Linked DNA regions of Homo sapiens: regions 2, 3 and 4 are each linked to region 1. Evidence: promoter capture Hi-C in 16 types of primary human blood cells and fetal thymus (Javierre and others, 2016). All regions are on one chromosome and are shown on one strand. Each heading gives the region's core, a stretch centred on a gene start or on the middle of the fragment in contact. The rest is flanking DNA. Distances are from core to core; before and after follow the strand shown.

Evidence for each region. Contacts are between HindIII fragments. The CHiCAGO score rates a contact against its expected background, and 5 or more counts as called.
Region 2: a fragment that was not itself captured here is called in contact with the fragment with the promoter of RBX1 in region 1 in 1 of 17 cell types (endothelial precursors); the score reaches 5.8 in endothelial precursors.
Region 3: a contact is called between a fragment that was not itself captured here and the fragment with the promoter of RBX1 in region 1, in 4 of 17 cell types (endothelial precursors, M2 macrophages, M1 macrophages and 1 more). The highest score is 6.3, in endothelial precursors.
Region 4: a contact is called between the fragment with the promoter of EP300 here and the fragment with the promoter of RBX1 in region 1, in 17 of 17 cell types (naive CD4 T cells, megakaryocytes, total CD8 T cells and 14 more). The highest score is 30.1, in naive CD4 T cells.

Annotation. Positions count from the first base shown.
Region 1 is chr22:40,947,910-40,954,891 of GRCh38, reverse strand. RBX1 (ring-box 1) reads right to left here and starts at 3,514. Exons shown (of 5, transcript NM_014248.4): 1 at 3,416-3,514; 2 at 1,259-1,337. The coding sequence starts at 3,493. RefSeq lists enhancers at 2,194-2,782, 3,238-3,447, 3,962-4,552 and a silencer at 3,498-4,077. The HindIII fragment of the contact is 5,907 bases long and covers 2,942-6,982 here.
Region 2 is chr22:41,171,025-41,178,006 of GRCh38, reverse strand. EP300 (EP300 lysine acetyltransferase) reads right to left here. Exons shown (of 31, transcript NM_001429.4): 28 at 5,344-5,508; 29 at 4,223-4,384; 30 at 1,479-1,760; 31 at 1-1,234. Among named protein-coding and RNA genes, the nearest start is that of EP300-AS1, 23 kb to the left of the region's middle. The HindIII fragment of the contact is 346 bases long and covers 5,257-5,602 here.
Region 3 is chr22:41,149,949-41,154,783 of GRCh38, reverse strand. It overlaps EP300 (EP300 lysine acetyltransferase), which reads right to left. Exons shown (of 31, transcript NM_001429.4): 14 at 4,586-4,835; 15 at 2,772-2,951; 16 at 2,434-2,578. Among named protein-coding and RNA genes, the nearest start is that of EP300-AS1, 45 kb to the left of the region's middle. RefSeq lists an enhancer at 2,206-3,405. The HindIII fragment of the contact is 2,014 bases long and covers 1,687-3,700 here.
Region 4 is chr22:41,088,219-41,095,200 of GRCh38, reverse strand. It overlaps EP300 (EP300 lysine acetyltransferase), which reads right to left and starts at 2,609. Exons shown (of 31, transcript NM_001429.4): 1 at 2,103-2,609. The coding sequence starts at 2,196. MIR1281 (microRNA 1281) reads right to left here and starts at 2,688; the gene lies at 2,635-2,688. RefSeq lists an enhancer at 1,919-2,158 and silencers at 2,269-2,368, 2,549-3,318, 3,419-3,708. The HindIII fragment of the contact is 3,482 bases long and covers 1,177-4,658 here.

The DNA.
Region 1 (6,982 bases), core at 2,265-4,764:
TCACTTGAACTCGGGAGGCGGAGGTTGCAGTGAGCTGAGATCACGCCACTGCACTCCAACCTGGGCGACTCCATCTCAGAATAAGGAAAAAAAATGGAAAACTGGCCGGGGCCATGGCTGCTTTGGCCACCGTGGTCAGTTAAAAAAAAAAAAAAGCATCCAGGTAAACTAACAGAGTGAGCAGGAGTGACTCAAGACAAAGTTGTAAAGGCAGGTGAGTGATCTGAAAAATAAGTTCCTATAATTCCATTTCTAGAAACTTAAAGTTTCTTTCCTCCATTTCTGGCCTCAGTAACAAATCATTTTAGTTCCCGGATGAAAAAGTAACCTCAACTGTTCCTGGTGTGATCAACATTCTTGTCCCTTCTACTGTAAGGACAGGAAATCAGTTCATCAAAGACTATAATCAGATCACTATGTGCTGACCACTACATGTAATAAAATATGTGGAGATTTAAATGAAATTTCTTTAGTGCAATTAATTATTTATTTAGATGTTGGCAATGATTTCCTTTTTATTATGTTTGGGCCTAACATACAAAATCCTCACTCCTTAACGCTTCTTTCCTTTGTAAACAATGACCAGCAAAAATTAGATCAGATAGACTTTTTTTTTTTTTTGAGACTTTGAGTCTTGCTGTGTCGCCCAGGTTGTAGTGCAGTGGTGTGATCTCGGCTCACTGCCACCTCTGCCTCCCAGGTTCAAGCAATTCTCCTGCCTCAGCCTGCCAAGTAGCTGGGATTACAGACATGCACCAGTACGCCCAGCTAATTTTTGTATTTTTAGTAGAGACAGGGTTTCACCATGTTGGCCAGGTTGGTCAACTCCTGGCCTCAAATGATCTGCCCGCCTTGGCCTCCCAAAGTGCTGGGATTACAAGCATGAGCCACTGCGCTTGGCCTCAGAATATTTTAGCTCAAAGTTTATTTTCCTCCTTTCACTATTTCTACCTTTGAGTCTAGGTACAAGATGGAAGATATGCAGGAAAAATCAACAGTGCCTGTCGTCCACAATTAATTCTAAATGTGTCCCTGCCATCTTTAGATTGAGTAGATTTATTCTGAGAGCTGGGTATGCCTCCAGGACATCATAAAAAAACTACTCTATTTCAAACACACCAACAGACTAGATACAGAAGACCGAGTGCTCAGAGTAGGCTTGCTATCTCCTCGTGTGAAGAAGAAAATCAGTCACATCAAGATAGCCACAATCTCTGCAACCTTCTCAACTTCCTCCCATCCTCCTCCAATTACTTACAAAGATCCATAATGTGGTTCCTGCAGATGGCACAGTTATCAACCACAATATCCCAGGCCCAGAGGGCTACTGCATTCCACTGCAAAGACAAAAAGAGGGAACAGTGCATTCTGCTTGTAACACACACACATACTCTTTAGGACCTCAGGCTGCAGCTGCAGTTATCATCTCTTTGGCCACAGGGAACCACCAAACAAAAGTTTTTGGATATTACGTTAATCTTATTATACCAAAGACAACAGTAGACTACACGTATGTTCTATTCTCCAAAAGGCTGAGTATATGAACACAGAAATTAATGTCATCTTTTAATTTGTTTCCTATAGTTTAAAATAATTTAGTCTGGCCGGGTGCAGTGGCTCACGCCTATAGTCCTAGCATTTTGGGAGGCCGAGGCGGGCCGATCACTGAGGTCAGGAGTTCAAGACCAGCCTGGCCAACATGGCAAAATCCTATCTTTACTAAAAATACAAAAATTAGCCAGGCCTGGTGGCGGGTGTCTATAATACCAGCTGTTTGGGAAGCTGAGGCAGGAGAATCGCTTGAATCTGGGGGACGGAGGTTGCAGTGAGCCAAGATCGTGCCACTGCACTCCAGCCTGGGCGACAGAGTGAGACTCCATCTCAAAAAAAAAAAAAAAAAAAAAAAAAGGGCACAAACTTGAATTTCTGTGCAGGTTTTGGTGGCAGTTGCAGAAGAGCTCAAAATCTGAATAAGTATCTGCTCTACACAGCTCTGGAAGCATGAGCAATGAAGTGAAAGCTAGAGAACAGAATGAACTAAGATAATGACTGGATCATAAAATGGGTAATCATGGGATAAGCTGGATAATTAAATACCCGTGTCAGTACACAGAACAAGGTCATCACTTAAATCTTAGATTACTTCATAACAAATTCTACAATTCACTAGAATTTTGATTCTTACCATAAAATAAACTGATGTTCTCAACTTTTATATGTTTAGACTCTTCTATTAAGATAATAATTCCAGTAAGAGTTTAACAGAATTTCATTCATTCAACTCTGGCTTCCTCAATTACAAATACTCCCAAACCTTCTTCGCTTTCAAACCCCATTCTCAGTGCCTAGTAACTTCTTTACCACTTTTCACATCACAGCTTCAAGGTGGAGGAAAAGCCCCTACTTCTATTATTTTTCAATATGGCTGCTGGCTGTAACTGAGCAGCAGTGGCCACAATGAGACACCAAAAAGCACTAGGACGGGGGATATTGTCAGTGTTTAGCCAGATGTTCTAGGAATATCTTCCCTATTTTAGAATCTCCATTTTGAACAGCTTTCATGTTAGGTGAGAATCGATACTGTTCTCCCAAACTGTGGCAAACCACTAAAAGGCATTTCATGCAAAAAGACACGTTCCATTTTTGCTTTCCCACGCTTACCAAGTCGTTCGCGACTAGTACTCAACCCTCCCTAACTGCCACAGGATTTGGGCTCGGATTTTCTTAACAAGTTCCACCATGCTTTTTATTATTATTTTGGAAGGGGGAGATTCTGGACGTGACAGAGAACCCAAGAGTGGGGTGGTTGTGTGAAAAGCCAACAGACGTCTCAGAAGAGCCAAGCATTACACTCCAGACTCTAACCAGGCAGTGTGAGGCCTCGGTTCAGCGAGGATCCCTCCAAGTGAGAGGACCCCTCCAAGTGAGAGGACCCCAAGCTTCAAAAAGGGGCGGAGCAAGATCACCAAGGGGGGTCCTCAGAGGCCTCTAATGCGGTAGGACCTCAGGTTCCAGGCTCTCGCCGCACTGCCCCATCCTCCACCGCCGCATTCGCTTCGACTCCCCATTCCACCCACCCCACCCCACCCTACCCTGTCCTTCCCCCACCTCTCAACCACTCCAGTGACAGCTCAAGCGCTTGGCTCCCGCCGCCAAGTCGCAACCCCGCGTATCTCAATAAGCAGCTCTGTGATTGGCCCCTTAGCCTCACAGCGAAACCAACACTTCCCCCAACAGTGGGCCGCCGTCACGCCGATCAACTCTAAGACCCGCCCCCCGGCTTCCTTTCGTGGTACCCGGTCCCAGGAACGCCCTGAAATGAAACCCTTTACTCCGCGCCTCGACCATCCTCGGGCCTGCCAGCCAGATCCGCGCCTCTCTAGCTTCCCTGAGGAAGGCGCTGGCGAGACCCAACCTTTTTCACTTCAAAGCGCTTCTTGCCCGCGCCGCTGTTGGTGCCGCTCGGGGTATCCACATCCATCGCTGCCGCCATTTTGGAAACACACGGTCTGTCGTCCGACCACCGCGCCTGCGCAGCAGCGCACACTTCGCTCCCCCCACCTCCCCGGCACCTCCTCCCGCACCCCACCCCTTACTGGCGCGCGAGGCGGAGGTGGGGGCGGAGCACGTGACCACGCCTCTTAAAGGGGCTGTCGCAGGTCGCCCCACCCGCGAACTGTAGGCCGGGGAGGGGGCGGTGGCCGGAGTGGGTGGGGCGGGGCCGGGCGGGGCCGGGCGGGGCCGAGGCTACGTGAGCTAGCCGGGTGGAAACGTTCGAAAGGGCTCGACGTCGCCGCCTCCTCTGGGAAGCCCCCGGCCGCACTCCGTCAGCTGGGGCGGCGGCTGCTTCCTCCGCCTGAGCCAGACCTGCGCCGCAGTCCTGTCCTGCCTGCCGGGCTCGCCGAGTCGCCGCGCGGCTCCCGGTGCTGGCGTGGGTGGGCGCCCGCGGCCTGCCCCGAAACCCAAGAGTCCTCGCTGGTCTTTCGCAGACTCTGACCCGCTTCCGAGCCAGGCCCAAGGTGCAGTCCCCGTGGGAGGGCTGGGGCCCAGGCACCGTCTGGTCTCCGATTTCTGTTCGGGAACTGCTCAGGGATTCGATGGGGAGAGAGGAGACCCCCGAAGTTCCTCCCTAAGGCCACACTGAGCAGGCCCCCAGCCCTGCCTTTACTCGCCCGCCAAGCCTGGGGGGTGGCCTCTGCGCCCACATAGTCGCAGTCCTAGGACCGCCTTTGGTCGTGGTGCACGGTTTCACCGTAACGTGTGTCAGTCCCCACTCCGCATTCCTCAGTTGTCATCTTTGTAGGGTGATTTCTCCCCGATCTGTGTCCTTTTTCCGCTGCTTGTGCTGTAGTGAAACCGACCCATCTGCAGTCGCTGTATTTCTTGAATTTTTGTGAGGCATTCTTTTTTAACTCTTGTTGCCCAGGCTGGAGTGTAATGGCGCGATTTCGGCCCACTGCAACCTCCGCCTCCAGGATTCAAGCGATTCTCCTGCCTCAGCCTCCCGAGTAGCTGAGATTACAGGCGCCCGCCACCACGCCCGGCTAATTTTTTGTATTTTTAGTAGAAACGGGGTTTCACCACGTTAGCCAGGCTGGTCCCGAACTCCTGACCTCAGGTGATCCGCCTGCCTCGGCCTCCCAAAGTGCTAGAGCCGCTTTTTTTTTTTTTCTTTTTTAATTTTTTTAAAAAATAGAGACAAGGTCTCACTATGTTGCCTAGGCTGGTCTCGAACTCCTGGGCCCAAGTGATCCTCCCACTTCGGCCTCCCAAAGTGCTGGGATCACAGGAGTGAGCCATCCCACCCGACCCAAGCACCTGTACTTTGTCACTCTCCCATTTCTGGCTAGACCAGGACTCCCTTTGACATCTCTAACCTTGCAGAGGTGTGACTCTGCCAGAGCACTCTTAGATGTCGTACAGGTGCATTTGAAGCCTTGTATTTTCTCTTAAAAGATAACTGGCGGGTAATGGAGCGTGCTGACTCTATTGCTAAAGAGAAAGAATAGGCTGGGCGCGGTGGCTCACGCCTGGGAGCCACTTTGGGAGGCCGAGGCAGGTGGATTACCTGAGGTCAGGAGTTTGAGACCAGCCTGGCCAACATGACGAAACCCCGTCCCTACTAAAAATACAAAAATTAGCTGGGTGTGGTGGCACGCGCCTGTAGTCCCAGCTACTCAGGAGGCTGAGGCAGGAGAATCTCTTGAACCCGGGAGGTGGAGGTGGCAGTGAGCCGAGATCGAGCCACTCTACTCCAGCCTGGGTGACAGAGCGAGACTCCGTTCCCCCCCAAAAAAAATAATAAAAGAGAAAGAACTGAGATTTGTTTGTTAGTTATAAACAGCAACAACAGATCCGGGAAAAGACCACCACAGCTTTATCCAGACTTGGAAAGAAAAATTGTGTGAGACCTTAAAGGGCTACAAGAACCCTACAAAGTTTTTCTTAGCCCAAGTTTTAATGACTTTGTTAAAATTTCTGTTGTTAATTTGTTGTGTGCCTACAGGCCCTGACAGGAATACTAGAAACCCATTGTAAATTAAGGTCTTGAAGACATATTTATCAATCATTCAATAAAAGTATTGATATTTACCAGGTTCTGTTTTAAACAGAAGAGACATAATAACAGAGTCAAATAAACCCCTAGTTAGGGAATAATATGCAAGTCAACAAATAAATACATCAAGAAGTCTCAGGGCCAGTCGAGGTGGCTCTAGCCTGTAATCCCAGCACTTTGGGAGGCCGAGGTGGGAGAATCACCTAAGGTCAGGAGTTAGAGACCAGCCTGGCCAACATGGTGAAACCCTGTCTCTACTAAAAATACAAAAAAATTAGCCGGGCGTGGTGGCGGGTACCTGTAGTCCCAGCTACTCAGGAGGCTGAGGCAGGAGAATGGATTGAACCCGGGAGGTGGAGGTAGCAGTGAGCCAAGATCGTGCCTCCAGCCTGGGCAACAAAGTGAGAGTTTATCTCAAAAAAAAAAAAAAAAGTTTCACGTATCCGCCAGGCGGGGTGGCTTAGGTCTGTAATCCCAGCACTTTGGGAGGCCAAGGCAGCCGGATCACTTGAGTCCAGGAATTCCAGACCAGCCTGGCCAACATGGTGAAACGTCTCTACAAAAAATACAAAAGTAAGCTAGGCGTGGTGGCACATGCCTTTAGTCCCAGCTACTCTGGAGGCTGAGGGGGGAGGATTACCTGAGCCCATACATGGAGGTTGCAGTGAGCTGAGATGGCGCCACTGCATACCAGCCTGGGTGACAGAGCGAGACCCTATCTCATAATAAATTAGTAAAAAATGCTGCATTGAAAAAAGTCTCTGGCCGGGCATGGTGGCTCATGCCTGTAATCCCAGCACTTTGGGAGGCCGAGGTGGGTGGATTACCTGAGGTCAGGAGTTCAAGACCAGCCCAGCCAACATGGCAAAACCCCATCTCTACTCAAAATACAAAATTTAGCCGGGTGTGGTGGCTTGCACCTGTAATCCCAGCTACTTGGGAGGCTGAGGCAGGAGAATTGCTTGAACCCGGGACGTGACAGTTGCAGTGAGCCAAGATTGTGCCATTGCACTCCAGCCTGAGTGACAGAGTGAAACTCTGTCTCAAAAAAAAAAAAACAGTCTCAGGTATCAATAAGTGTTGTGAAGAAAACAAGGTAATGAGATTGAGGGGAGAAGGAGGCAACAGTAAATTGGGTGATTAAATAAGACTTCTGTGAAGAGTGACATTTAAGCTGAAGTCCTTTAAATGGTCCTACATGATCTACTTCCCCATCCAATTTACATGTACCTTCTAACATATTTTTTCTAAGTTGGGCATGTGGTCCCAGCTACTCAGGAAGCTAAGGAGGTGGGAGAATCCCTTGAACCTGGGAATTCGAGGCTGCAGTGAGCTGAAATTGCACCACTGCACTCCAGCCTGAGTGACAGAGCAAGACCCTATCTCCTAACAAACAAACATATTTTGACATTTACTTGTGTATTA
Region 2 (6,982 bases), core at 4,180-6,679, 220 kb before region 1:
GTTGTGGATTAGAGTTGGCATACTTGGCAGCCCGCTGCTTGATGAATGCAGCCAACAGCTGGGGGTTGGCGTGAAGGATACTAAGCACCTGTTGCTGCTGCAGGGGAGAGCTGGGAGACCTGAGAGTCCGCAAAAGGTTTTGTAAGGCTTGTTGAGACACAGTGCCTGGTTTGAGTGGGCTGATACCTACCTGGCCCAATCCTGGTTGTGGAGCCATGTTCAAAGGTTGACCATGCTGGGCCACTGACATCATGGCTGGCCTTGGCATCCCAGACTGTAGTTGCTGGGGCTGAGGCAATCCTCCTTGGCTCCAGGGTGGCTGTTGCTGCATCCCTGTCGGTCCCATCCCTGGCTCCAAATGCCCACTGGGACCTCTGGTCATGGGAGGTGGGTTCATACCCATGGGGGCCATGGGAGTCATCGGGGGCATCTGGTGTTGGATTGGCCTTTGAAAAATTTGCACGTGGGCCATCTGGCGCTGCGTCTCCGCTGCTCTCTGAATCTGCATTGCCATTTCCACTGCTGCAGGTGGGGGCCCTGGAAGGGGTGGCTGAGCAGTCTGAGGAGGGGTTGGAGGGGTCACCTGGCCTGCTGCCTTACCCTGGGACACAGGGCCAGCAGCTTGAGTCCTGGGCAAGTAGGGTGGCATGCTATTGGGAGGGGTAGGCTGAGGCTGAGAAGTGGGCTGGGGCGTCTGCGGGGTGGTTGGCTGTTGGCCAGTTGGTGTCGTTGGAGTGGCAGGAGTGGGGGAAGGGAGGCCCTGTTGCTGCCCAACCACACCAGTCCGCTGCATGCTGGCCATCCTCCTGCGAAGCATTTGGGCCTGCTGTAGTCGGTGCTGCAGCTGTTGCTGCCGGAGCTTCTGCTTGATGTTTAGGCAGAACGGCACCGGGCATTTGTTCTCCTGGCAGTGCTTGGCATGGTAGCAGCAGAGGGCAATGAGCTGCTTGCAGATGGGGCACCCGCCATTGGTTTTCCGTTTGCAACCCTTGGTATGCTGCACAACCCGCTTCATCTTCTGGCAGGATGGCAGTGAGCAATTGGCATTCCGACACTGGCAAGCATGGACCAGAGACTGGATGCAGCGCTGGATACTCAGGCGGCGAGAATCGCCTGGGCTCTGGGTGGCTGCAGCCTGCTGGTTGTTGCTCTCATCATCTAAGCCAAGGCCTAGTTTCTCCATTTTGTGGTCATGGTTTTTAGTGTTATAGCAGGTGATACACAAGTCATAATCCTAGGGAAAAAACAGGAGGTGCACGTAAACTCTCCAAGATTTAAGTCATTCAAAAGTATTTTAGATATTGTTTGGGCTAGAAAAGCCCCTTTCGTAGAACAAAAACTAGCCTCTTCAGCTCTGCCCCTCAAACACGAGGCCAAGCCCCTAGCATCCCACAGGCCTCTATAAAATACGTGGCTGCATGGCCCCTCAGAACAACCCTGCGGAGCTCACCTCCTCCTTCCCACAACCCGGTGCCTACCTCACAGACAGTACAGTGCCAGCGTGTCTCCACATGGTGCTTGCATTCATTGCAGGTGTAGACAAAGCGGTCCTGGCTCTGCGTGTGCAGCTCCACCAGCATGCACATGGTGGACCACTGGGCTCTTCGGAGTGAAGAGAACTCCAGGTGCTTGTCCCTTGCCAGCGTGAGAAACGCATCCCGACCATCCATCAGATCGCAGGGGATGAGAGGATCAGGATCAACAATGGGAGGCAGGGAGTTGGCAGCAGGGCCAGCAATGAGGCGGATCACAAAGAAGACCTGAAAAACAGACAGTCTCTTTTTTTTGAGACAGGGCCTCGCTCTGTCATCCAGGCTGGAATGCAGTGGCGTGATCTTGGCTCACTACAACCTCTGCCTCCTGGGCTCAAGCAATTATCCCACCATGGCCTCCTGAATAGCTGAGACCACAGGCCCACACCACCACACCTGGCTAATTTCTGCATTTTTTGTAGAGACGAGGCTTCGCCATGTTGCCCAGGCTGGTCTCAAACTCCTAAGCTCAAGTGATCTGCCTGCCTCAGCCTCCCAGAGTGCTGGGATTACAGGTGTGAGCAGGTACAGCAGGCTGAGCACCAATGAGACTGGCGAATGCTGAGTTAGTTTCACCACCATACGCCTCCTGTTCCTTTTCCTGCTTTACCTCTTTGGTCTCTTGAGACTGACTATAAATAGAACTGAAATGCACATCCTGTGATTTTTTTCTCCTTCATTCAGTAACTCCTTCAGAGTAACAATGGTCTGGGTGAGGTATAGCACCATGCACAGTGGACATTTTGCCTCAAGGCAGTCTACTTTAAGATGCAATCCATGGTTTAACCTCAATCTAATTACAACAAACCAGACAAATCCAAATATGGAGACAGTATGAAAAACAACTGGCCTGGACTCATGAAGGTCCCCTATGCAACTTTCCTGTGTAACTTTTCCTACAGGTTTGGAAGGGAATGGAATGGATAAAAAATCTTAGTCTTTGTTGACAAAGCAATAAAATTCTTGTTCATTGAAGTTTGAAAAAACTTGTAACAACCATCAATTCTCATAACCATTAGTGTAAAAGGTATAAAAAGCTGGTATTACATATGTATTTGACATTAATTAGTATATAACTATAAACACCTATTAAAGTAATAAAATGTAAAACATCCCCTTAAGAAATTAGGAACTTGTGAGAAACTGCTGTACTGATAACAGATTATTCAACATCTGTGCACACTGGCAGCCACACTCACAGTCTCTGGCCAGCAATGTTCGCTGCTTCTGTCACCCTACAACCAGGCCAATACTTGGATTTACAACCTAAATTTAAACAGCCATGGAATGTGTCCACAATTTAAGTCAAACCTATTACAATATATTCTAAGGGCTTTTCCCAACTGCCTAGGATTCTGTGGCATTACTTACTGCTTGAAATAGCTAGTAACTATTAATTGTTAATAATCATTACCTAACGTATTAGAACTCAGGAATCCTTCCATTTCACTAGCATGGCTGAGATAATGGTTATTACCATTATTACATCGTAGCCCATTATTCTAGGCTAACAAAAAAGGGGTGGTGATGGGGGGAGCAGTGGGGGAAAAGATACTTTGAACACCTATGTATATAGGTGTTCACCATGATAACATCATTATAACAAATTCCTCTCTAAAAAAGATTTTGTTAACTATTTCTCTCCCAAAGAGACTGTTTAACCAATTTTTAGGTACGGAATTACAACCTGAAATCAAGCCTTCATTTCCCTCTCAACTTAATTACCACTTCCTATAAGAACTTGATTATATGTCTGAGAACCGAGATAGTAAAATGAGGAGTCTGACTGAACAATCGAGATTACTACCATTGGACAAACCCTGAGAGGAATTACTCTTCAATTCTCCTGGCTTTCGTTATCAATTATATGATATTAAAGAGAGAAAAAAAAAACCTTACCCAGTTATTTTCCCAAATGACTGCAAGAACAACTAAACAATGTAAATGATGAAATAACTCAAAAAGTTTTGAGAAGGGGGTTGTAAGTCCATATGTGGAAGTTTAACTTTTCTCCAATTCTATTTACTAATTCACTTTCAGAAAGGTTAAATCTTTTTATTTTTTGAAACAGAGTCTCGTTCTGTCACCCAGGCTGTAAGTGCACTGCAACCTCTGCCTCCCAGGTTCAAGTGATCCTCCCACCCCAGCATCCCAAGGATTACAGGTGTGTGCCACCACGCCAGGCTAATTTTTGTATTTTTAGTAGAGACGGGGTTTCGGTTCGCCATGTTGGCCAGGCTGGTCTCCAACTCCTGACCTCAAGTGATCCGCCTGCCTCAACCTCCAAAGTGCTGGGATTACAGGCATGAGCCACCACGCCCAGCGAACAGTCAGTGTTTTTATTCATTTCTTATTTCTTTTTCTGAGGTGGAGTTTCGCTCTTGTTGCCCAGGCTGGAGTGCAATGGAGTGACCTCGGCTCACTGCAATCTCCGCTTCTCAGGTTCAAGCAATTCTCCTGCCTCAGCCTCCTGAGTAGCTGGGATTACAGGCATGTGCCACCATGCCCAGCTAATTTTGTATTTTTAGTAGAGCAAGGTTTCACCGTGTTGGTCAGGCTGGTCTTGAACTCCTGACCTCAGGTGATCCACCCGCCTTGGCCTCCCAAAGTGCTGGGATTACAGGTGTGAGCCACCATGCCTGGCCAGAAATCTTGCCGTTTTTCCCCAACTCTGGGTGGCTGCATCTTACCTCTTTATGCTTCTCCATGGTGGCATATAGTTTCTGTGAGAGGTCGTTAGATACATTGGGCATCCCGGGTTTCTTCTTGTTGCCCCTACTCAGGCTGCTCTTATTTTTGCTGGTTTTCTTATTATTCTTCTTTTTAGCATTTTTGCTGTCTCCCTTGGTCACCTGCAGAGTAGCACAAAGGAGACAAGAAAATAAGGTTTTTGTTAAGTAATTTGGGAATAGCACAGAATATCTCCCTTCTTTGAAACTAGATATCATAATCTTATGCCTGTAACTTATTTTACTAGCTGTTCTCTTCACTTATTCTTTCTCCTTAAAGTTGTTATTTGACCTAATTTTCTCCCAGTGATCTTTAAGGCAATGGCAGCCCTTTAGCTTTTTGCCTAGAAGAGGCCACAGAATGTGCAGACCCTGTAGATTGATTGAATGTATCCCAGATTGGGGCTAGGGAACAAGGAAGGGGTGGCACTTTGGGGTAGTGAAGAGTGTATCAAAGTGGGGAGCCAGAAGACCTTGGTTTTATTTCCTTCCACTCATATTCTAAAATGTTATGAGCCTACAAATACTAAATGACAAGGCTGTAAGAGTTTGTTAACAGACTATTTAAGGGTGCCTTTTGTTAAGTTAAATTCAATGGAGGTAATTCGAGATATGCTATGGGGAAATAACTGGTGAGGTTACTAAGCCAGGCTTAGTAACTTAAATTCTGGCTCAGGCCTATTTTGTATAGCTAAGAATGGTTTTTTACATTTAAAAAGAGTGTGTTTTTAAAAGACAGAAAATATGCCAGAGATATGTGACCCACAAGGCCTATAATATTCATAACCTAGTCCTTCAGATAAGTAATCTTCTATCAGTTTTTCAGGATTTCCTTCAGTTTCTTTTATCATTTCACATTACTCAAAGTCTGAGATGCCATTTTAAAAGGGGCTCTGATGCTTTAAAAGTTTAATACCACTGAAACAGAACCCTAATAACCTCTCTAAGCCAATATTTCTTGTCCAACTTAAAGAGCTCTTTTACACCTGAAAGCTTTAAAACCCAATTGAAAGTTTAAGTGCACTTCTGGATTAAATATTAGAATCATGATAGAAGTTTCAAAGGAAACTCAATGCCCTTACATCTGTGCTTTCATTGCTGGTGTTTTCCTCTCGTTTTCTCTCTTCTTCCTCCTGTTCCAGTTCCTTAATGCTTTCTTCCAGAACATTGGGCCAGAAATCACCCTCGAAATAAGGCAATTCCTTTGCACTTGTTAATCTATCTTCAGTAGCTTGTTTAAAAATATCCTGTGAAAACATGCATGTACATATAGGAATTTCTATGTTCTTTTAAAGCATTGATTATACAGAATAATCATGGCTGACAAGAAACATGAAAGCTTAAAATGTCTTGAAAGCTGGCAGAGACTTTATACCTAAGCCGTAAGCCAGGGAGTATTTAGAAAAATAAATAGTGAAAAGGCCTGGCCTAAAGTCAATATTTCCGGTTTTCTATTTCTTCTACCCACAAAAACAGGGAGCTTATCTGCCTTTATATAACCAAGTGGCAATTATCCTGCCAGGATCAACGTCAGGGTGGTAGCACCATCATGCATGCCATGGCCCCTACCACTCCTTATCACAGAATATGTGGTATGAAGCATGCCCTCCTCACACCCATCCTTGGAATTTCAGCAGCTTTTACTGACAGCTTTGTTCAAAATGACCAAAACTACAAATACTGGAAATAGTATCTGCTGCAGAATGATTTGCTGGGCTGCTTAGGAAAACTTCTTTATTTAGTTGAACTACTAAATTGAGGAAGACAAGTCTGTATCATGAGACAACCTATATTTATGAATAACATAATACTGTTAATTAAGAATATATTTTTGGCCAGGTGCAGTGACTCACACCTGTAATCCCAGCACTTTGGGAGGCCGAGGCAGGTGGATCACCTGAGGTCAGGAGTTCGAGACCAGCCTGACCAATGTGGAGAAACCCCGTCTCTACTAAAAATAGAAAAAATTAGCCTGGCTTGGTGGTGCATGCCTGTAATCCCAGCTACTCGGGAGGCTGAGGTAGGACCATCACTTGAACCCAGGAGACTGCACCATTGCACTCCAGCCTGAAACTCCGTCCAAAAAAAAAAAAGGGAGAATATATTTTTGGCTGGGTGATGTGGCTCATGCCTATAATCCTAGCACTTTGGGAGGCTGAGGTGGGCAGATCACTTGAGCTCAGGAGTTTGAGACCAGCCTGGGCAACATGGTGACATCCTGTCTCTACAAAAAATATACAAAAATCAGCTAGCTCTCGTAGTGTGCACCTAGTCCCAGCAACTCAGGAAGCTGAGATGGGAGGATGGCTTGAGCCTGGGAGGCACAGGTTGCAATGAGCGGGTATCATGCCACTGCACCCTAGCCTGGGTGACAGAGAGTGACCCTTTCTGAAAACAAAACACCCACACCCCTAAAACCCTAACCAACCCAAACCAAACCAACAAAAAACCAAAACAAAAAGATATATTTTAAGGCCGGGCACAGTGGCTCATGCCTGTAATCCCAGCACTTTGGAATGCTTGAGGCCAAGAGTTCAAGTCCAGCCTGGGCAGCATGGCGATACCCCAACTCTATCCCCACCCTCCCCCCAAAAATAAATAAAATAAAATTTTGGTTACATGTTTAAAACAGGGATTTCTTGATCTACCGCTCTTCAAAACCTGGTTTTTCTTATATTGAAAAATTTTGAATATACAAAATAAAAGCAATCAAATTAGCAT
Region 3 (4,835 bases), core at 1,444-3,943, 200 kb before region 1:
ATCACCTTAAAACACTCTTCACCCTCAGCTTAACTTTTCAGTCACAAAGTCAGTGAAGACAGACTCGGTCAATTAGAAGCAGAATCCAAAGGCTTCTAAAAATTTATGAAGAGACTTTGCCAAATAAGAGTCCATGGGACCAGGCACGGTGGAGGCTGAGGTGGGCAGATCACTTTGAGGTCAGAAGTTTCAGCCTGGCCAACATGGTGAAACCTCGTCTCTACTAAAAATATAAAAAATTAGTCGGACATGGTGGCATGCTAGTCTCAGCTACTCAGGAGGCTTGAGGCAAGAGAACTGCTTGAACTCGGGAGGCAGATGTTGCAGTGAGCCGAGATGGCGCCACTGCACTCCAGCCTAGGCAACAGAATGAGGCCCCATCTCAAAAAAAAAAAAAAAAAAAAAAAGAGTGCACAAGATACTCGTGTTAAGAGGGAGATGCAGTCAAGCAAGAACAGAAAAGTCTTTCTTCATGACATCAGTATTTAACAAGTCAGAAACTAGACTAGATCAGGTATTGTCTTATACTACAAGGAGTCAGGGGCACAGAAGAGAAGACTCCTTCGTTCAAATGCTTGGTATTTTAGAGCCAAAGAAAAAGAGACATGTACTATTTTAATGACAAATGTTAGGTTTAAGTTTAAAAGAAGAGAGAACAAAAATGGTATTGCTAAAATAATAGACTTAGTTGATCAAATTAAGTTCAAATGTGTTCTCAATGATATTTCCCAAAAAGTCCGGAAAAATTTGTTGGTGTGTCCCAAATGGAATCAAACAGTTCTTTGAGAAGCCAGTGATTTAAAAAGCTTTCAATTTCAGCAAGGGCCTTATTTTTTCTTAATTGGCAAAAAAAATTTCATCATCGGTAGAGTATATTTGTTACTTCAGATAATTTTCACCTCTGGGGGGTTGCCATGGAGTGGGGGGAAACCAGACTACGAAGATGCTTGTCACTCATATTTAGCTGTGCTAAAAATAAGGACTATTTGAATAAACTTGTGAAATTAGACATTTTATTTTATTTATTTGTTTGAGACAATTACTCTCTGTCACTCAGGCTGGAGTGCAGTGGCGCCATCTTGGCTCACTGCAACCTCCTTCCATCTCCCGGGTTCAAGTGATTCTTCTGCCTCAGCCTCCCAAGTAGATGGGACTACGGGTGAGAGCCACCACACCCGGCTAACTTTTGTACTTTTAGTAGAGACAGAGTTTCACCATATTGGCCAGGCTGGTCTTGAACTCCTGACCTCAAGTGATCTGCCCGCTCGGCCTCCCAAAGCGGTGGGATTACAGGCATGAGGGAACACACATTTTAAAGAGAGATTGCCAATAGTAAGACTGGGTTTGTTACAGCCCATATTAAAACACCTCAATATATACAAGTCTTATTTTTAAAATGAAAATAATTTTTTAATCCCAACATTTTACAACACATTGTATTAATGGAACACTTTTCAATATATATCATCTGTAAGAGCCAGCAGACTCACTCCTCAGGTATGTCCTACCTGGTGCCTTTTGCAGATCACTAGAGCCACAAAAGTTCTAGTCCTAAAATAGTCAATTAACACTTGTTGGAATGGCTGGATTTGAGCACTCTGCCTCAGACTGCCTGGGTCTGCTTCCTGGCCCAGGCAGTAGGGTCAGCTGAGTAACCTGTGGAAAGTTACTTAACTTTGCTAAGCTTCAGGCCAATAACCTCAGAGCTGTTGTGAAATTATTAAATGAGGCCGGGTGTGGTAGCTCATGCCTGTAATCCCAGCACTTTGGGAGCTCGAAGCGGGTGGATCACCAGGTCAAGAGATCGAGACCATCCTGGCCAACACGGTGAAATCCTGTCTCTACTAAAAATACAAAAATTAGACGGGCATGGTGGCATGCGCATGCAGTCCCAGATACTCGGGAGGCTGAGGCAGGAGAATCGCTTGAACCTGGGAGGTGGAGGTTGCAGTGAGCTCAGATCCCGCCACTGCACTCCAGCCTGAACAACAAAAGTGAGAATCCGATTCCAAACAAAAAAGAAAAGAAAAAGAAAGAAAGAAATTATTAAATGAGACAATGTGGATACTTAGCACACAGCAGGTGAATGACAAATGCTATTACTATTGCTATTCTTTCCTGCATTTTAGTCAAGGCTATTTACAAACATTTCTCTCTCCTGAAAAATGAGACAATTTTTAGGGTGTACTAACACAGGGAACCCTGAAGAAATGAGGGGAATGACTTAACTCATTGGTTGCTGCAAGTGAATATTAAAAAAAAAAAAAAGAAAGAAAAATTATTAGTAACAATGAAGAGACCAGGCCCAGGGCTTCCAGGTTAATGAAATCACAATAATGGCAACTTCTGAGGCCCAAGAGGCATGACCGCAATTCTGCCCTGGGTCTTTGGTTTCTTCAGCTACCTCCAGAACGAATGGCTTCAGAGACTCACTCTTTTTCTTTGACTGTCCTGGAGCCGGAGATGACTGGGTAGCTGAAGTACTTGGCTGGTCTTCCTCCTCTTTTATTTCAGTTTTTAACTCAGTGCTTCTCTCTTCTGTTTCGGTAGATTCCATTTTACAGTCTTCCACTTTAGACTAAAAGAAAACGTAAGAATTTTTAGTATTCCAAAGATATCTAGTTGGGAATCAGTAATCTGAACACCCTTTCTCATGCAAAATCTATGCCATGAGATCTAATTATCAAAATATTTTTCTGCAATATTTTTTAAAACTTGGGTTCCTATACTGAGGTCCTAACCAAATCAAACAGTAATTGCCCTACTCTCACCTCTGAAATATCCTCCGGCTGAGTATCTGCTGGTTCTGGTTGATCCACTTCCATTTTGGCCTCCATCTTCACTTCCTGGGAAGGCTGCTTCTCAGCAATGGCCTGAGAATTCACTTCTGTGCTACTAGTAGATGGAGGATTTGATACCTGTCCTTCAATGCTTACAGCTGGCTGGGAAAGCTGGGCAGAAAAAAAAGGGAAGTAGGTGAGACACACGCAGAGTCTGCCAACGATACAATCAGAATGTAAGGTAAGCAACAGGATAGCAGAATTAGCCACCTATTTCTTGGCTTATATTTATTCATGGTGCTTTCATTTGCTCTGCCCATTTCACCTCCCTTAATTATGCTTAAGAACAGGAGAATTAAGACTTGTAAATACTGGTTGGCTGATTGTACATCAAAGAACCAGCAACTATTTCATTGATAACTATCATTATCTGGCAGTGTGTGGGGATTTCAAAGATGTCTGCTTCAGAGGAGCTCACATTTATACAGAAATGAGTGAAAGAAAATAAGAAAGACTGGCTTGTTTTTACCTTCTCACCAGAGAAAGTTTCAAAGGTACAGAAAAGGAGACAATAAATATAATGATGTCCCAGAGAGTGGCTGTTTTGAATCGCTAGATTCTAATGAGATAAACTGGCATTCCCTATCTTTATCCTAAGGCTTGTCATAAGAAATCTCTTAATGAGAAGTCAGTATTTTCTGGAAGTATCCTTGATTTTATAAAGAATAAAATCAAGCAGATCCACTGGTTCCTCTCTCATTCTGTCCTTCCTTGTCTATCAGAGGCCACGATGAACCAGCCATCCGTCAAGTACAGTACTTTATAAAACGGCTGTGACTCATGGAACTTCTCAGTTCATCAACATGGCTGAGAACTATTGGATACCGATATATATTAATATCGGTATCAAAGTAGAAGCTTCTAAACCCTTAAAAAAAGTTCTATTAATAAGGATTCAACTATTAGATGAGAATTTGGATTTTTATTATATACATAACCAACCTCTCACAAGGAAGCTACAGGTTGTTCTGGGTCTATAATTCTCTCATCTTATTTTTAAACTTTGGTTTGGGCCACAAGGACTCATAAATCTGCAATTTTTTTTTTTTTTTTTAGACGGAGTTTCACTCTGTCGCCTAGGCTAGAGTGCAGTGGCGCAATCTCGGATCACTGCAACCTCCACCTCCCAGGTTCAAGCCATTCTCCTGCCTCAGTCTCCCGAGTAGCTGGGATTACAGGCACCCGCTACCATGTCTGGCTAATTTTTGTTATTTTTTTGTAGAGACAGGGTTTCACCATGTTGGCCAGGCTGGTCTTGAACTCCTGACCTCAAGTGATCTGCCTGCCACAGCCTCCCAAAGTGCTAGGATGAAAAGTGTACACCACCGCGCCCGTCCAAATCTGCAATTTTTAAATTCAATCTCTAGGTTTTATGGCTCAAACTGTTTGAAAAAGATTCCTTAAATATATGTAAAATTTATGTGCTGCACTAAATAATATACTAAATAAGGAGAAGGATTGTGTCCCCTTGTCGTACCCCTTTACGTACCTTCAGACCTCAGGGTACAACATGAAACATAATGGTCAAAGTCAGAGCTAAATAAAATCTTTATGCTCCTGCTACGATAGGTACTATCACAGGAAGGCAAAACAGGATACAAAAGTCCCTAATGAAAAATAGATTACATTCTACTTGTGGAGAAAACAGTAAGAGATAAAGCAAAAGAGAATGGAAATGGCCCAGAAGTAATATAATACTACAGTATAGCTCTAATGATTCTGCCTAAATCCAAATCTCTACTTACTGGAGTTGCAGGCTGCGGAGGAAGCAGCGGTGCTGTTGGGGTAGGAACAGACGCTGCTGTGCTCTGCTGTGAGCGAGGCTGCTGCTGGGGCTGGTCAGCAGAAGGTGCAGCAGGAAGTGAAGGCTGCACTTGTTGGGGAAGTTGTGTTGTTGGTGGTGTAGGTGTCTGCCTTGGAGGGGGATGTAGAGCCTGGGACTGTGGCCCAGGTGGCATGGCAGGAGGTGTAGGAACAGGGGCTGGAATTGTTGTT
Region 4 (6,982 bases), core at 1,360-3,859, 140 kb before region 1:
AGAGGGACAGTATTTTCTTTATACTCACTTCTCCCCTCCCCCAAACCCAGACTGGTTACAATTAAAAACCGTACACCAAAGAATTCCTGGAGTAGAATCTTGATTTGGGGAGGGGGGTAAAGTTAACCCTCATTACAAAATTTAGAAAAGTAACTAAGATAAACTCTTAGCATTATGAGTGAATGAATTAATCTCAATGTTGAGTTTTTTTTTAAACTATAAAAGCCCACTTAACACATTTAAAACTCTTGTAATTATTCAAAGATATTTCAAGTAGCAAAACAGACCGACATGGAGAAAGTAGTAGCACACCTGAACAGAAGTATTTAAACAATACAGCTCCAAGACGAAACTGCTCAAATCAGGACTACTCAAAGTACACAAAAAAGTTTCCCCTACGTTCCAAGTCACTGGCTAACTCCAATGTAAAATCGACTACCACGTTACACCAAAACTAAAAAGCAAAAACTACCACATTACACAAATACGAAAGAAACACCACAAAAATCTACAGGTGATTAAGTCTCTAAAGATGATCTAAAAAATGTTTCTGAATGGCACTTTAGTAGGTGCAAAGGAATACAACGACGTTTGTGTATGTGTATGAATTCTGAAGGAAAAAACCAGCTAAAAAAATCCCTGGAGACTACAGTACCTTCATAGAATAGGTACAGATCAAAGTTCATGCATAATCAATGTTACAAGCCTTAGGTAGAGGAACTCGCAAGATTCCTACTTCTCAATTTTTGCAGGTTAACTTAAATTCATTTCACATCTTTCTTATAAAAGCAACGAATTCAAAGCATTAGCTCTGTCTTCCCATTTTCACCCTCTGAAATGAAGCCTATTTAGAAACATGCTCTCGAAGTTCTCTACAAACTCAAAGGGTACATTTAACTCCATTATGCACTCTCACTGGCAGATGGAGGGATGACGCTGAGCCTGCTCTCAGGGAGTTAAAGAGATGCTCCGTAGTAAAGGGGAACATCTTGTGGACTGTCAGATGGCCAGCCATTCTTCATCTTCATTATCCCAGCAAAGAAAAGGTCCTTACCCATCAGGATAACACCATTAAACTAACTGTAAGAAAAGAATGAAGGGATGATGGAAGAAGTCTCCCTGAACTTCTCCTGACAAAGGAGCTAGTCCACAACTGAATGAACTGGTCGTAAAGCTTTTAAACGAAAATCTTGATCTCCAAGTATGTTTAAAAGTGTAAAAAGACAAAGACACACACAAACACCAAACCTAATGCACATTTTAAACTTTTGTACAATCAGTTCACGTTTGTAGTTCATGATTGGAACTCTTTCAACTTCTAACCTTGATTTCCAGGTACGTAACTCCACAAAATTGTTTATCTTATTTCCCCTAAAATGAGAAAGTGACTGCAAACTGCAAAGAACATGCCCCTGTTCTCCCAACCTAAAAACCCAGAGTTTCAGACATTTTGGTCTCACACCAAAGAACTGGGAGATGTGAAATGAACTGCGCTCCATATTGATTCTTAAAGCAAATAAGAAGAAAAAGGAAAAAAAAGCTAAGAATGGTAGGTAAGATAAAAGAATTGTTAAACTTCACCTCTAACCTGAAATCTTGGACCTCGCACACACAAAATCAAGATTTTTTTACACCCTATTCCTCAACAGAAAATATTCTGCAAAGGAGAGAAAATTTCGAAGAGTGGAAAGTAGAGGAAACACAGTAAGTACAGTAAAGAGAAAGGATTCGAAATTCATTTGCCAAGAACAAAAAAAATGAAACTTAAATTGCATAGGAGCTCTTACACACAAATGCATTGGCATTTCCCAAATTAAATTGCATGAGAGCAACAATACAGGCCATTTCTATATAGCACCCACTTACGAGCTCTAATTCCAGAACACACACCGATATGACATAGTGTTGCAATCAATGTATTAGGAGGCAAAGAAAATGGTTGGGCTACTGGACGTCTTCGACCAGCTCATTCAAATACCTTTAAAATTAATTAAGGGGCAGGGAACTAGAGAGAGAGGAAGAAAAAAAAAATGGAAGAATAAAGGCGCACCGAGTAGAAAAGATTAAAGGGAACGTGGAAGGCCGGGGCTGCCGAAACTAACCTGTGCCATCGCTGGCGGACGCCGAGAGGGCCGGAGATGAGAGTTTAGGCCGCTTGGCTGAAGGCGGCCCCGGTTCCACCACATTCTCGGCCATTTTTAATTCTTTCGGAGATACAAGCGAGGAAAACCAGAATCCTCAGGAAATCTCTTCTTCGGCCCGGGGTCCCCGCGCCGCACCCAGGGGTGGGCTGGGGGGCTCCGACGGCACCCGAGGGGGTGGGGGAAGTTCCTTTTTCTCTTCGCCGGGTCGCAGTGGCTGGAGAGGGATGCGGACTCGATAGAAAAGGTAAGGGCAAGTGCGAGGGGCCGGGCCTGGGCCCAAGCCCGGAGGAGGGCACAAGAGCACAAATTCGCCGAGCGCGTCCGCTGCGGCGAATTCCCGAGAACTCGCGGCTCTAGAGGCGCAGTCCCCGGCCCGCCACGGCCGGCCCCTGCCCAGCCGAGGTCTCTCGGAGCTCCGCCGCCGCCATCAACCTCTTCCTCCTCGGCGCTGTCCTCCTCCTTCTCATCGCCACAAGGAGGCGGGGGCGAAAAGGGGGGAGAGGAGGAGGCGACAAGAGACACTCACCTCCTCCCGGTGCCCCCTCCCGGGCCTGCGCCCCCACCCTCCGAACCCTCCTCCTGCCGCCGCGCTCCGCGCCGCCGCCGCCGCACCGGCCCCTAATGGCCGCAGAGAACTCGCCCGAGCCGAGAGCCAGGCTGGCGCCGCCGCCTCACATCGCGCGGCGGCCGGCGGAGGCGCGGCAAGGACGCCGGGAGCGGAGCTGGCCGGACCAGAGGGCCGAGGGGGCCGGGCCGAGCAGCGCCGCCCGCACGCCCGCGCCGACGCGGAGCCCACCGAGGAGGCCCCGCTCCGGCGGCGGCGCAGGCGGCCCCTCCTCGCGCCGCGCTCCCCTCCTTCGCCTTCCTTTCCCGCGGAAAATAAATAAATACGGCCGCTGCTACGGCCCCCACCGCCGGCGGCCAGGTGCTGGGAGCGCCCGCCCCCCGGGGCTCCGTTCGGGGCCGCCCGCGGCGGCGGGAGAAGACGCCGCGGGGCGCGGGGTTATGTAATGGTCCCCCCTAGGCGTCGACGCCGGCCCGGCTGCTGGACCGCGGTGGGGGTGTGTGCGGACGGGAGGGGGCTGGGGGTCGCCTCAGCCCGTGCGCCCCGGGCCCCCTGCCACTGTCTCGGCCCCTGCCGCCTCTCTCCGACCCGACTCCCCTCCGCACTCTCTGGCTCCCGCAGTTAGCACTCAGCCCGGCGTCCTGCTTGCCCACTCTCGCCCGCTCTCTCTCGCCCTCTCTCCCCCCCAGCCTAGCACACAAACAAGATGGCGGCTGTTGTTTCTTCCCTCTGCCGAATCCTCCTTACAGGCTAGCGGTAGCGGCGGCGGCCGGAAATGAGCCAAGGGGGGGTGGAAAAGGGGAGTGGCCGGGCCTCCGGAGGGGGGCGGGGCCTAGGCCCGAGCCGCTCACACAATGGGGGAAGTGGAGCCGGGGGCGGGGCCTGTCCCAATCACGGGATCCGCCCTAGGCCCCAACGCGGTTAGCGCTTCCGCAAACTCCCCCGGCGTCACCCTGTGGCTCCCTTTAAAGGGGAGGATTTTAAGAGTGGGGAGGATTTTAAGGGGGGAGGGGCGGGGGCGGACTCAGAATCTATTTTCAGTCGGTGGATAGTTACGAGGGAAGGTTCCTGCCTTTGGTCTCTGCGTAAGGGACCAGTGGGAACCGGGACGACGGAACCCCGGAGCTGCTCCGAGGAAGGCGCCAAGTCGCCACTCAGGTGGCCAAATGGGAGCGCCCGTAGGGCGGCCCTGCTCTTCGGCCCTTGGGTGGCGGGTCCCCCAAAACCCCGGTCGAATTCACCAGGCAGGGTGTACCCACTGCCGGCTGTTCCGGGCCAGATACCCAGTGCGTCCTCACTTCTCCATTGCCCTCCCAAAGGGAGCAGTTCACATCCAAAAAGCACGTTGATTACGAGTTGTTTTCATTTTCTCTGAATTTTCCTTTTCCTTTTTATGTATTATTTATTTATTTATTTTACAACGAGCATTATTACTCTGACCAGAAAACAAAATCACAGCAGTGGAAAGATGTTTCGGCACCAGACCCAAATTCATTTCTTGCCCTCCACGTGTGTCCATACGCCCTTACCAGGTAGCACTCTCACCGCAGAAGCCTTCAAGTATTTTCCTAAACATGGCTGGGACCTGAAGACATTTCTAGGGTTTGTCTTTTTTTTTTTTCTCGTCCGCTCCCAATAGAACAAGTTAGTAAAAGACCACGTCTAGCCATTGCCTTATCTAATGTAATTATGGGAAAAACAAAAATGTGGTAAAGGTAATGTAAGGATGGAAAAAAGCAAAAATGTAATGGTGAGAGGAAATGCTGGAATATAAAGTCTAGTGTGTGGGACTCCACAGTTTTGCAGCTGAGGTCGGAGACGTGCTTTCAGGTTCCTACACATCACCCTGTGTTTGGCCATGGGTAAATTGGTACTGGAGGAGGTGGCAGGGGTGTAAGTGACCCCGAAAGAAACCCCGAAACCAGTATCTACTGATACGGTTAAAAGCTTTTTCTCGGCCAGGCACGGTGGCTCACGCCTGTAATCCCAGCACTTTGTGAGGCCGAGGCCAGTGGATCACCTGAGGTCAGGAGTTCGAGACAAGCCTGGCCAACATGGTGAAACCCCGTTTCTACTAAAAATACAAAACTTGTCCGGGTGTGGTGGTGCACGCCTGTAATCCTAGCTACTTGGGAGGCTGAGGTAGGAGAATCTCTTAAACCCGGGAAGCGGAGGTTGCAGTGAGCTGAGATTGTGCCATTGCACTCCAGCCTGGGCGACAAGAGCAAAACTCTGTCCCAAAGAAAAAAAAATTTTTTTTCTTTTATTTCATATCTCATGCTCCGTAGCTGGTATTTGCAAATTGTTGGATTTTCTTTGTTTTTTTTTTTATATTGTTTCTGTTTGTTTTTTAAATTAATGTTGGGATGAATAAATAAGAACATAAGAGTGAAGATCCTAATGGAGCAATTGAAGTTGCTGACAGGGATGGAATCTGTCCTCTAATGATCAGGCCTAGATCACCCAAACTGCAGTAGAAAAGCAGGCAAATTGAACCGGGCGTGGTGGCTCACGCTTGTAATCCCAGCACTTTGGGAGGCCGAGGAGGGCGGATCAGGAGGTCAGGAGATTGAGACCATCCTGGCCAACACGGTGAAACCCCGTCTCTACTAAAAACACACACAAAAAAATTAGCTGGGCGTGGTGGCGGGCACCTGTAGTCCTAGCTACTCGGGAGGCTGAGGCAGGAGAATGGCGTGAACCTGGGAGGCAGAGCCTGCAGTGAGCAGAGATCGCCCACTGCACTCCAGCCTGTGCGACAGAGCGAGACTCTGTCTCAAAAAAAAAAAAAAAGGCCAGGTGCGGTGGCTCACGCCTGTAATCCCAGCACTTTGGGAGGCCAAGGCGGGCGGATCACGAGGTCAGGAGATCGAGACCATCCTGGTTAACACGGTGAAACCCCGTCTCTACTAAAAATACAAAAAATTAGCCGGGCACGGTGGCGGGCACCTGTAGTCCCAGCTACTCGGGAGGCTGAGGCAGGAGAATGGCGTGAACCCGGGAGGTGGAGCTTGCAGTGAGCCGAGATCGCGCCACTGCACTCTGGCCTGGGCGAAAGAGCGAGACTCCGTCTCAAAAAAAAAAAAAAAGCAGGCAAATTGAAAAGGACAGAACTTCTTTATCTTAAAGTTGTTACAGGATGAATTCAATGTGTAGGAGTGAGATCAAGATTGGCCTTCAGGGATAATTTTGTTATTTTTAATAGTTTATACCCATATTCAGACTAAGGAGTACAAAGGAAAGAATGTTGGTCGGGCACAGTGTCTCATGCCTGTAATCCCAACGTTTCAGGAGACGAGGGTGGGAGGATCGCTTGAGCCCAGCAAACATAAAGAGACCCCCCTATTCCCCATCTCTACAAAAGTTAAAAAAAAAAAATTACTTAGGCGCGGTGGTGTACACAGCACCTGTAGTCCAGCTACTCCAGATACTGAAATGGGAGAATCACTTCAGCCTGGGAAGTCGAGGCTGCAGTGAGGTGTAATCATGCCACTGCACTACAGCCTGGGCAATAGAGTGAGAGATCCTGTCTCTTAAAATAAATAAATAAATATTTTAAAAAACAAAGCAAAGAAATGAGAAATGTGGAGGACACCTGGAAACTTGCTCTGTCATTTCCTGGTGGGAGATTGCTTGCCCAGTTTTTTTTTTTTGTTTTTTTTTTTGAGACGGAGTCTGGCTCTGTTGCCAGGTTGGAGTGCAATGGCGCCATCTCAGCTCACTGCAACCTCTGCCTCCTGGGTTCAAGTGATTCTCCTGCCTCAGCCTCCCGAGTAGCTGGGACTACAGGTGTGCGCCACCACATCCAGCTAATTTTTGTATTTTTAGTAGAGATGGGGTTTCACCATTTTGGTCAGGATGGTTTAGATCTGTTGACCTCGTGATCTGCCCGCCTTGGCCTCCCAAAGTGCTGGGATGACAGGCGTGAGCCACTGCACCCGGCCTGTTTTTGTTTGTTTGTTTTCTTGTTTTTTTGAGACAGAGCCTTGCTCTGTCACCCAAGCTGTAGTGCAGTGGCATGATCTCCGCTCACTGCAACCTCTGCCTCCCAGGTTTAAGTGATTCTTCCGCCTCAGCCTCCCTGGTAGCTGGGATTACAGGCATGCACCACCACGGACCCAGCTAATTTTGTGTATTTTTAGTAGAGACGGGGTTTCACCATGCCAGGCTGGTCTCAAACTCCTCACCTCAGTTGATCCACACACCTTGGCCTCCCAAAGTGCTGTTACAGGAATGAGCCACTGTACCTGGCCCCAGCTGGTTTTTTTTTTTT